Linked DNA regions of Homo sapiens: region 2 is linked to region 1. Evidence: promoter capture Hi-C in 16 types of primary human blood cells and fetal thymus (Javierre and others, 2016). All regions are on one chromosome and are shown on one strand. Each heading gives the region's core, a stretch centred on a gene start or on the middle of the fragment in contact. The rest is flanking DNA. Distances are from core to core; before and after follow the strand shown.

Region 1 (5,674 bases), core at 1,355-3,854:
CATCTGATACCATCTCAGCCTAGACTTCATTCTCCATGTCACTACCAGTATTTTGGTTAAAAAATTCAAGTCTTTAGAAAGTGCCAAAATTTCCCACATAATCCTGTCTTCTTCTAGGCCCTTCAAACTGTTCCAACCTCCCCCCATTACCCAGTTCCAAAGTTGATTCCACATTTTCAGGTTTTCCACAATACCCCATTCCTGGTACCAATTCTCTGTATTAGTCTGTTATCACACTACTCCAAAAATACAACCTGAGACTCGGTAATTCATTAAGAAAGGATGTTTAATTGACTCACAGTTCTGCATGGTTGGGGAGGATTCAGGAAACTTAAAATCACTGTAGAAGGTGAAGGGGAAGAAAGACACATCTTATATGGAGGCAGGAAGCTGAGAGAGTGAAACTGCAGAACATTTTTAAAACCATCAGCTGTTGTGAGAACTCCCTCACTATCATCAGAACAGCATGGGGGTAACTGACATCATAATCCAATAGCTTTGCATCAGGTCCCTCCCTTAACACATGGGGATTATAATTCCAGATGAGATTTGGATGGAGACACAAAGCCAAAGCATATCAACAACACAGCAGTATTTATCTAATGGACCTAGGAACTATCTCTTTGAAACGTAAACATAAAGAGAGAAGGTGCCCCTCTGTTTCCAGTTTCAGTAAAAGGTAAGAACTTAACCTCAGTAGGTGCTTTTCTCTGAACTGCAAAACAACCTCTTGAGATTAAAAATATGAGAAGTCAGTTTCTCTTCTGATTAAAGACAATTAGCTATATAACATGTGGTCCCCTGTTACCATTGTAAACTAAGGGTATGTGACAAATGGTGCCGTTAAATTTTCTTTATTAAAGACTACTGATCAACCAGTAATTTCTTTTAAGAAAATTTGTCTATCTTGAAGACTACCTTGATGCTTAGCTATATAAAAGGCGAGATTTGTTTTTGACTTTGTAATCTCTTGGTTGATTTTCTACAATGTACATTAAATTCATATTTCATATTTTTAACAGTAAAACTGATTTCATTCTCTACTGTCTTTGTGGAGAGGACTTCTGGGTTCAGAGAAAATTTTATTTTTAATGTTATGGCTTCATCACTAGGCTTTTAAAAACAAAACCATGAAGACTTAAATTCCTTAAAACCAGTAGTGATGATCAGGGTACTACCACTTACCTTGCAGAAAAAAAGAAAGAAAAAAAAAGGATTAGGAGGATACTACACTATGTATATGATGGCCAATTATATGCCCAACAAGTAAGATAATTTAGAATAAATGAACAAAGTCCTGATACATACATACTATTTACCTTGCAGAAAGGGAAAAAAAAGGATTAGGAAGATACTATACTTTGTATATGATGGCCAATTATACGCCCAACAAGTTTTATAATTTAGAATAAATGAACAAATTTCTGGTACATACAAACTACCAGAACTGACTTGGGAATAAATACAGCACGAATTCATAATCCAAACTAAGGCCTAGGACCATTTAAAAAATTTACATCAATCCTCGAATGTGTCCAAAAACACAGAAGAAAAAGGGACACTACACAGTTCATTCTGTGAAGCCGGGATTATATTGATCCTAAAGTCAAAGTCATCACACGATACAAGCCAATATATCTTAACACAGATGCTAAGATTCTAAACATAATAGTACACACACAACAAATCCAGTAAATTAAATGATTGTATACCATAATCAAATGGAATTTGTCTTGAAATAATTTGACCTCCACAGCCAGTCCATTTGAGACATTCGGTTAAGCCATGATTTATTATAAGATTCAGATGCTTAGTCTCACTCCTTCCTATGTATATTTACTTTCCATTTCCTGTATATATTTACTGTCTACTTTTTGTCAGTATTCCGCTGGGTGCTAGCAATTGTAAGCAACAGATGCGGCCTCTGTACTTACATGCTTTACTGTGAGGTGGTGAGGTAGAGAAGATAAGACTGAAAAAAATAGGCCGGGCGCGGTGGCTCACTACTGCAATCCCAGGAATTTGGGCGGCAGAGGCGGGAGGATCACTAGGTCAGGGGTTTGAGAGCCTGGCCAACATGGTGAAACCCCATCTCTACTAAAAATACAAAAATTAGACGGGCAGATCGCGCCCCTGCACTCCAGCATGGGCAACAAGAGCGAAACTTCGTTGTCAAAAAAAAAAAAAAAAAAGAGAGAAAAGTGATAAACATTCTGAACATAGAGGGCCTTGTCCTAAGCCAGTCCTCCAAATTCACTGTATAAGAGTAAGGGCTCTCTTAAAATTTAGGCGTTTACAGTTAAATGACCCACGAACTTCTGAAACTGGAAGACCGTTTTTTAGCAAAGGAGAATACTCCAGGGCCCCGCCCATTTCATCCTTGACTCCACCTTCTCCATGCTGAGTCCCGCCCCGCTTCCTGTTTATTCATCCTGCAGCAAACTCTCCGGTATCCTGATGGAGTCTACTAGGTGTCAGTCATTTGGCCGTGCCTCAGCCGAAGAGAGGCGGGGAAAAGCATCGTAATCAGCTGCGTCGCCTTTTGGTGACGCCAGAGAGTGCGCGTCAGCAGTTTATTAGAGAGCTCTGTAGCCAGCCTCTTCTGCGCACCCACCTGCTGCATCTTAGTTCAGTCGGCTCTTAGAGTAGTAACCGCCAGAAAGGAGTCGGAAGAGGTCTCACGAGGCTGTCATCACCGCCATGCCCAAGAATAAAGGTACTGCTGTAAGCCTCTGGGACTATACCTCGGCTTGCTCTGCCAGTAACCCCGACGCCTGTTCCAGGCCGCAGTGACTGTTCTAACGGCGGTACTGGCCACTGCGACCCCAGCACTGTGTTCGGGAAAGGAGCTGGGAATGCCCTATTTGGTCACATTGGGGTGGGACAGACGCCATTTTTGTGGGGCCTCCTTCGGAAGATAGCGGGCTTTTGCTGCTGATTTCACGCCAGACGGAAAACGTATAGGTAGGGACGGTTGAGGGACCTTAACCGGACGGCCTGGCTTTCCAGAATAGGCACATGCAAACACTTCCCTGCTACTTTCCTGGAAGCGGTTCTTAACTTTGAAGACTTACCTATCTGGACAGTTAAAAGTATTGCTAAGGATACTCCCTTTTCCTTGTTAAACAGTGGGGAAGCCTTGAAGCATGTTTAGGTTCATTTCTGGCGTTTTACTCTACCCCATCCCTTTATAGAGTGTAACATTCTTTTGCAGAAGATTTGTTACCTATTTAGGCAGGTTTTCAACTTCCGTATCCGATAAATATTGTGGGAGTAAAGATATCAACGTTCCCTTCATTCTGAGGCTAAACTTTCACACGAAACTTAGACTTGAAAATAAGTTTACTCACAGCTTCTAAAGTAGGAGGTCTAACCTCGGTAGAACCCTTTCTCAGTCATTTCTGAAAGAAATTCTCGTTTTTATACACCTGAGGTAATCTCTCACTTTTAGTGCCCTTGTAATTGCTTGAAGAAAACTGTAGGTGGAAACAAAATATTATTTTCCACAGGAGGGGACCATGTTTTATAGTCCACAAAAACTCTGTTTAGATTATTCCTTCCTGGGACCCAGACCAATTTGTCTTCTTTTTACTTGCCTGTTGGCAGCATGGAATCTGTTTCATTTTCTCTTTTTAGCTGTCACGACACACAGCTCTTGAGGTACTTGGTGACAGTACAGTGCAGTCTTTCCTGGGCATTACTCTTTGCTCTCCCGAAAACCCACTAACGGGTTGTGTGTATAATAAGGTTTTATTTTATTTTATTTTATTTTTTACTGCAAAATTATTGGAGGATAAAGTGTATTCTGGGAGAAGTCTAATTAGAAAGAGTTAGCAAAGGCTTATGCTTTTTCACTAACATTTTCTCAGATGGTACTGAACAACTTCAGTAGGTATCTTGTTCTCACCTTTATTTCTAGTGATGAGATTCCCAGTTCTCTAAGCCATCAGCTCTAAAGATCAGAGTATCTCCCTTTGCAAAATGTCCATTAAATCTTTGCTGATGTTATTATCCCTGTACCTGACTCTATCCTTAAATAGTAAGGCTTCCTTTATTCTTGTAGGGTAGAACTTTTAAACTGAGTGATGCCTAAAAATGTTCTCAATAAAGAGAGTATCTCCAAAACACGTCGGATTTGTTTAAAGAGGAAGTGTGGATTTTTTGATCTTAGAAAGGAAACGAGATAAAATATTAAACGACTTTAATTTTTGTATGATCATGCCTAGCCTCATTCCTCTAAAATATAATTTAAAGTGGATTCTGTTACATGGTATCACAATAGAAGGGGAATGATCAGGGTTTGGTTAATCCTGGTAAATTGAAAACAATTTTTTTTTTATCATATGTGCCTCAGAAGGCACACAAAAGAAGTATAGTGGCCGGGCGCGGTGGCTCACGCGTGTAATCCCAGCACCTTGGAGGCCAAGGCGGGTGGATCACGGGGTCAGGAGATCGTGACCATCCAGGCTAACATGGTGAAACCCCCTCTCTACTAAAAATACAAAAAAAATTAGCCGGCCGTGGGGAGGCTGAGGCAGGAGAATGGCGTGAACCCGGGAGGCGGAGCTTGCAGTGAGCCCAGACCGCGCCACTGCACTCCAGCCTAGGCGACTGAGCAAGACTACGTCCAGCCTAGGCGACTGAGCAAGACTACGTCTCAAAAAAAAAAAAAAAAAAAAAAAAGAAGTATAGTAATACAGTGAACTCCTAGAAATCCATACCTCTAGGAATTATAACCTAGATTCATTAAAGTCCTCTGTTACCCTTCCCAAATTTATTTTTCTTAAGATAATACCCATCCTGAATTGAATGTTTTTATTGTTGTGTAAAATTAGTGTTATCTTCTGGGCTACTTACTTGAGGGATACTTTTGAAGACCCCTAAATATTATGAGATGAGACTTACTAATGTAGAAATAAAACTTGCTCATTTGGTTTTCTGTGTCTTTTTTGTTGTTGTTTTTTTCGTTTGAAAATCCAGATGCCTGTCAGTATTGTCGTGGTGAGGTTTATCCAAATAAACATGTAAATGAGCATGGGCCATATGTGGAATTACTTTTTCTTTGCATGCATTAAGCTGGTATTCTACAAAAATCTTAGAAACCCATCCTCACATCAGGAAAAGGGCATCCTTTGGCCTATACTTGTGAAGAGCTAGAGTAAGGTGCTCCCCACCTTTGAGATTGCTAAAGTTGTCATTCTTTTGGAAATTTATGAGCTAATCATCATTTAGTCATTTGAAAAGCTGCCAAACTTTTGTAAAACCCAGTAAGGAAAGCAGGTATGATCTTTGTCCTGACGCAGCTAAGTTCAGGCACGATTAATTGCTCGAAATATAGAATGTGTTTTCCTTTGTAGAAATTTAGTTTTGGCATGCCCTAAAATGCATCAGAATCTGGATAAATCACAGAGTTCTGGAAGCCCAATTGTCTTCTATAGTGGCACAGAACAATGTGAGACTGCCCCAGAGGTAGTGGGTGAATTCAAGAAGTTAGATGTCTGGCTTTATGGTGGCCAGGTATATGTTTTATTCTATTTGCAGTGTTAACATTTTTATTCAAATTCTTCAATCGATCCCTTAATATTACTGTAATTTGTAGCCTTTCTCCCTCCTTTTGGAAACGGCCGCTACTTTGGTTTACGTTCTCTAATGGGGATACAATGTTATGGAGAAG
Region 2 (5,386 bases), core at 155-2,654, 350 kb after region 1:
ATATGCTGGATGCTGGATTACATTTATTGATTTGCATATGTTGAACCAGTGTTGCATCCCAGGGATGAAGCCCACTTGATCATGGTGGATAAGTTTTTGATGTGCTGCCGGATTTGGGTTGCTAGTATTTTATTGTGGATTTTTGCATCAATGTTCATCAAGGATATTGGTCTAAAATTCTCTTTTTTGTTGTGCCTCTGCCAGGCTTTGGTATCAGGATGATGCTTGCCTCTTAAAATGAGTTAGAGTGGATTCCCTCTTTTTCTATTGATTGGAATAGTTTCAGAAGGAATGGTACCAGCTCCTCCTAGTACCTCTCGTAGAATTCGGCTGTGAATCTACCTTGTCCTTTTTTTGTTGGTAAGCTATTGACAATTGCCACAATTTCAGAGCCTGTTATTGGTCTATTCAGAGATTCAACTTCTTCGTGGTTTTGTCTTGGGAGTGCATATGTGTCGAGGAATGTATCCATTTCTTCTAGATTTTCTAGTTTATTTGCATAGGGGTTTTTATAGTATTCTCTGATGGTAGTTTGTATTTCTGTGGGATCGGTGGTGATATCCCCTTTACCATTTTTTATTGTGTCTATTTGATTCTTCTCTATTTTCTTCTTTATTAGTCTTGTTAGCAGTCTATCAATTTTGTTGATCTTTCCAAAAAAACCAGCTCCTGGATTCATTAATTTTTTGAAGCGTTTTTTTTTTTTTTTTTTTGTCTCTATTTCCTTCAGTTCTGCTCTGATTTTAGTTATTTCTTGCCTTCTGCTAGCTTTTGAATGTGTTTGCTCTTGCTTCTCTAGTTCTTTTAATTGTGATTTTAGGGGGTCAATTTTGGATCTTTCCTGCTTTCTCTTGTGGGCATTTAGTGTTATAAATATCCCTCTACACACTGCTTTGAATGTGTCCCAAAGATTCTAGTATGTTGTTCTTTGTTCTCGTTGATTTCAAAGAACATCTTTATTTCTGCCTTCATTTTGTTATGTACCCAGTAGTCATTCAGGAGCAGGTTGTTCAGTTTCCATGTAGTTGAGTGGTTTTGAAGGAGTTTCTTAATCCTGAGTTGTAGTTTGATTGCACAGTGGTCTAAGAGACAGTTTGTTATAATTTCTGTTCTTTTACATTTGCTGAGGAGTGCTTTACTTCCAAGTATGTGGTCAATTTTGGAATAGGTGTAGTGTGGTGATGAAAAAAATGTATATTCTGTTGATTTGGTGTGGAGAGTTCTGTAGATGTCTATTAGGTCTGCTTGGTGCAGAACTGAGTTCAATTCCTGGGTATCTTTTTTAACTTTCTGTCTCATTGATCTGTCTAATGTTGACAGTGGAGTGTTAAAATCTCCCATTATTATTGTTTGGGAGTCTAACTGTCTTTCTAGGTCACTAAGGACTTGCTTTATGAATCTGGGTGCTCCTATATTGGGTGCATATATATTTAGGATAGTTAGCTCTTCTTGTTGAATTGATCCCTTTACGTAATTGCCTTCTTTGTCTCTTTTGATCTTTGTTGGTTTAAAATCTGTTTTATCAATGACTAGGATTGCAATCCCTGCCTTTTTTTGTTTTCCATTTGCTTGGCAGATCTTCCTCCATCCTTTTATTTTGAGCCTGTGTGTGTCTCTGCACGTGAGATGGGTTTCCTGAATACAGCACACTGATGGGTCTTGACTCTTAATTCAATTTGCCAGTCTGTGTCTTTTAATTGGAGCATTTAGTCCATTTACATTTAAAGTTAATATTGTTATGTGTGAATTTGATGCTGTCATCATGATGTTAGCTGGTTATTTTGCTCGTTAGTTGATGCAGTTTCTTCCTAGCCTCAATGGTCTTTACAATTTAGCATGATTTTGCAGTGGCTGGTACCAGTTTTTCCTTTCCACATTTAGTGCTTCCTTCAGGAGCACGTTTAGGACAGGCTGGTAGTGACAGAATTTCTCAGCATTTGCTTCTCTGTAAAGGATTTTATTTCTCCTTCACGTATGTAGCTTAGATTGGCTGGATATGAATTTCTGGGTTGAGAATTCTTTTCTTTAAGAATGTTGAATATTGGCCCCCACTCTCTTCTGGCTTGTAGAGTTTCTGCTGAGAGATCCACTGTTAGTCTGATGGGCTTCCCTTTGTGGGTAACCCGACCTTTCTCTCTGTCTGCCTTTAACATTTTTTCCTTCATTTCAACTTTGGTGAAGCTGACAATTATGTGTCTTGGAATTGCTCTTCTCGAGGAGTATCTTTGTGGCATTCTCTGTATTTTCTGAATCTGAATGTTGGCCTGCCTTGCTAGATTGGGGAAGTTCTCCTGGATAATATCCTGCAGAGTGTTTTCCAACTTGTTTCCATTCTCCCCATCACTTTCAGGTAAACCAATCAGATGTAGATTTGGTCTTTTCACATAGTCCTCTATTTCTTGGAGGCTTTGTTCATCTCTTTTTATTCTTTTTTCTCTAAACTTCCCTTCTCACTTCATTTCTTTGATTTTGTCTTCCATCACTGATAACCTTTCTTCCAGTTGATCACATTGGCTCCTGAGGCTTCTACATTCTTCACGTAGTTCTTGAGCCTTGGCTTTCAGCTGCATCAGCTCCTTTAAAGCATTCTCTGCATTGGTTATTCTAGTTATCCATTCATCTAATTTTTTTTACAGTTTTTAACTTCATTGCCATTGATTTGGATTTCCTCCTGTAGCTTGGAGTAGTTTGATCATCTGGAGCCTTCTTCTCTCAACTCATCAAAGTCATTCTCTGTCCAGTTTTGTTCTGTTGCTGGTGAGGAGCATCATTCTTTTTGAGGAGGAGAGGTGCTCTGCTTATTAGAGTTTCCAGTTTTTCTGTTCTGTTATTTCCCCATCTTTGTGGTTTTATCTACTTTTGGTCTTTGATGATGGTGACATACAGAAGGGTTTTTGGTATGGATGTCCTTTCTGTTTGTTAGTTTTCCTTCTAACAGACAGAACCCTCAGCTGCAGGTCTGTTGGAGTTTGCTAGAGGTCCACTCTAGACCCTGTTTGCCTGGGTATCAGCAGCAGTGGCTGCAGAACAGTGATTCCTGTAGAACAGCGGATCTTGGTGAATGCAAACGCTGCTGCCTGATCGTTCCTCTGGAAGTTTTGTCTCAGAGGAGTACCCGGCTGTGTGAGGTGTCAGTCTGCCCCTACGTGGGGGTGCCTCCCCGTTAGGCTGCTTTGGGGTCAGGGACCCACTTGAGGAGGCAGTCTGCCCATTCTCAGGTCTCCAGCTGCATGCTGGGAGAGCCACTACTCTCTTCAAAGCTCTCTGACAGGGACATTTAAGTCTGCAGAGGTTACTGCTGTCTGTTTGTTTTTCTGTGCCCTGCCCCCAGAGGTGGAGCCTACAGAGGCAGGCAGCCCTCCTTGAGCTGTGGTGGGCTCCACCCAGTTTGAGCTTCCTGGCTGCTTTGTTTATCTAATCAAGCCTAGACAATGGCTGCAGCCCCTCCCCCAGCCTCACTGCCGTCTTGCAGTTTGATCTCAGACTGCTGTGCTAGCAATCAGCTAGACTCTGTGGGCATAGTATCCTCTGAGCCAGGTGCAAGATATAATCTCCTGGTGTGCCATTTTTTAAGCCTGTTGGAAAAGCGTAGTGTTAGGGTGAGAGTGGCCCGATTTTCCAGGTGCTGTCTGTCACCCCTTTCTTTGACTAGGAAAGGGAACTCCCTGACTCCTTGCACTTCCTGAGTGAGGCAATGCCTGGCTCTGCTTTGGCTCATGCACGGTGCAGTGAACCCACATTCCTGCACCCCCTGTCTAGCACTCCCTAGTGAGATGAACCCAGTACCTCAGATAGAAGTGTAGAAATCACCCATCTTCTGCATCACTCACTCTGGGAGCTGTAGACAGGAGCTGTTCCTATTTGGCCATCTTGGCTCCACCCCCTTTCATTTTTTTTAACTGAGATTCTTGGATAGGTAGATTTGTGTTTAACAGTATATTTAGAAAGTTTCAACCATTTTTTATTCAAATATTCTTCCTATTCCTATCTCCTTTTCCTGTGAGACTCTTATTATGGATATGTTGATATGCTTGATGGTGTCCCATGGCTGACTTAGTTTTGCTTATTTTCCTTTATTGTTTTTCTTCTCTTATTCCTTAGACTGAATAATGCTAAACAGTTCATCTGCAATTTCCCTGATTATGGTTTCTGCCTGTTTATGCATCTTATTCAATCCCTCTAGTTAGAGGATATTGATTCCATTATTTAAAATTATGTATATGTATTCATTGGTATTCTGCATTTATTGAAAACTTGTTCTCCCAGCTTCCCTTAGGGCTTTGAGAACATTTAAGTAAAGTGAAATAAAATATTTGCCTAGAAAGAACCATGAATTACTAGGGAGGATTGCTTAAGTCCAGGAATTGAGACCATTAGGGGTAACAAAACAAGACCCTGTCTCTAGATAAAATAAACATTAGCAATGTTAGTGGCATGCACTTCTGGTCTTAGCTACATGACAGGCTGAAGTGAGGGGGTCACTTGAGCTCAGGAGTTCGAGGCTGCAGTGAACCTAGTTCTGCCTGTGTGACTGAGGGATACCCTGTCTCAATAAAGTGAAATAAAATAAAACAATAAAATAAAGATATGACAAATAATTAAGAAAAGTATCTGTGCTACTAGCACACTTTTTATAACAAACAATTTTTGACACTAAAACAGAGAAAGGTAGGGGCAGCAGTATGGAAAAACTTGTATAATGTCCACAGTAAATTGTAATTCACTGTATATTATTATAAATTTAAGATATCAATACAATCCCCCTAATGGCCACCATGAAAATAACTCTTAAAATGTACTGAAAATAAATGAGGAGGCAGTAAAAATGGTACCCTTAGAAAAACAATCAAATGCAAAAATGAGCAGGTTTTGAAGCAATTGAAGAAGAAATAAGTGACTTGTGGAAAACAAGGAGCAAAATAGAATGAATTATTTTCTTATCAGTGATTTAAATGCAAATTCATTAAACTCCAGTTAAAAGACACAGATGGGCAGCATGGTTTTTAAAATATTTTTTTTGAATGGAGGCATTCAATTTTATGTAAACATTAACAAAAAAAGAACTGGAGAAACTATGCTAATGTCAAAAAAGTTTAATCCATCAAGAAGATATAACATACATATACCTAATAATAGATCCTTAGGATGTATGAAAGAAAAACCAACAGATTTGAGGAATTAGACAGTTCTGCAATTGTGTCTGAAGATTTCAACATCCCACTTTCAACAATACATGAAACAACTGAACAGAAGATCAATAGGAAAACGTATGTCTTAAATAGCATTATACACCAAATAAGGCTATCAAACATATAAAAAACAGTTTAGTTTCCAAACTGACTACACATCCTTCTGAAATGTACACGGGTTATTCTCCATGTTGTTT

The links. Contacts are between HindIII fragments. The CHiCAGO score rates a contact against its expected background, and 5 or more counts as called.
Region 2: a fragment that was not itself captured here is called in contact with the fragment with the promoter of EIF1AY in region 1 in 1 of 17 cell types (neutrophils); the score reaches 5.3 in neutrophils.

What each region holds. Positions count from the first base shown.
Region 1 is chrY:20,573,172-20,578,845 of GRCh38, forward strand. EIF1AY (eukaryotic translation initiation factor 1A Y-linked) reads left to right here and starts at 2,605. Exons shown (of 7, transcript NM_004681.4): 1 at 2,605-2,716. The coding sequence starts at 2,701. It overlaps TTTY10 (testis expressed transcript, Y-linked 10), which reads right to left and starts at 2,344. Exons shown (of 10, transcript NR_197944.1): 1 at 1,935-2,344. The HindIII fragment of the contact is 11,947 bases long and covers 1-5,674 here.
Region 2 is chrY:20,922,125-20,927,510 of GRCh38, forward strand. No RefSeq gene overlaps it. Among named protein-coding and RNA genes, the nearest start is that of RPS4Y2, 170 kb to the left of the region's middle. The HindIII fragment of the contact is 8,728 bases long and covers 1-5,386 here.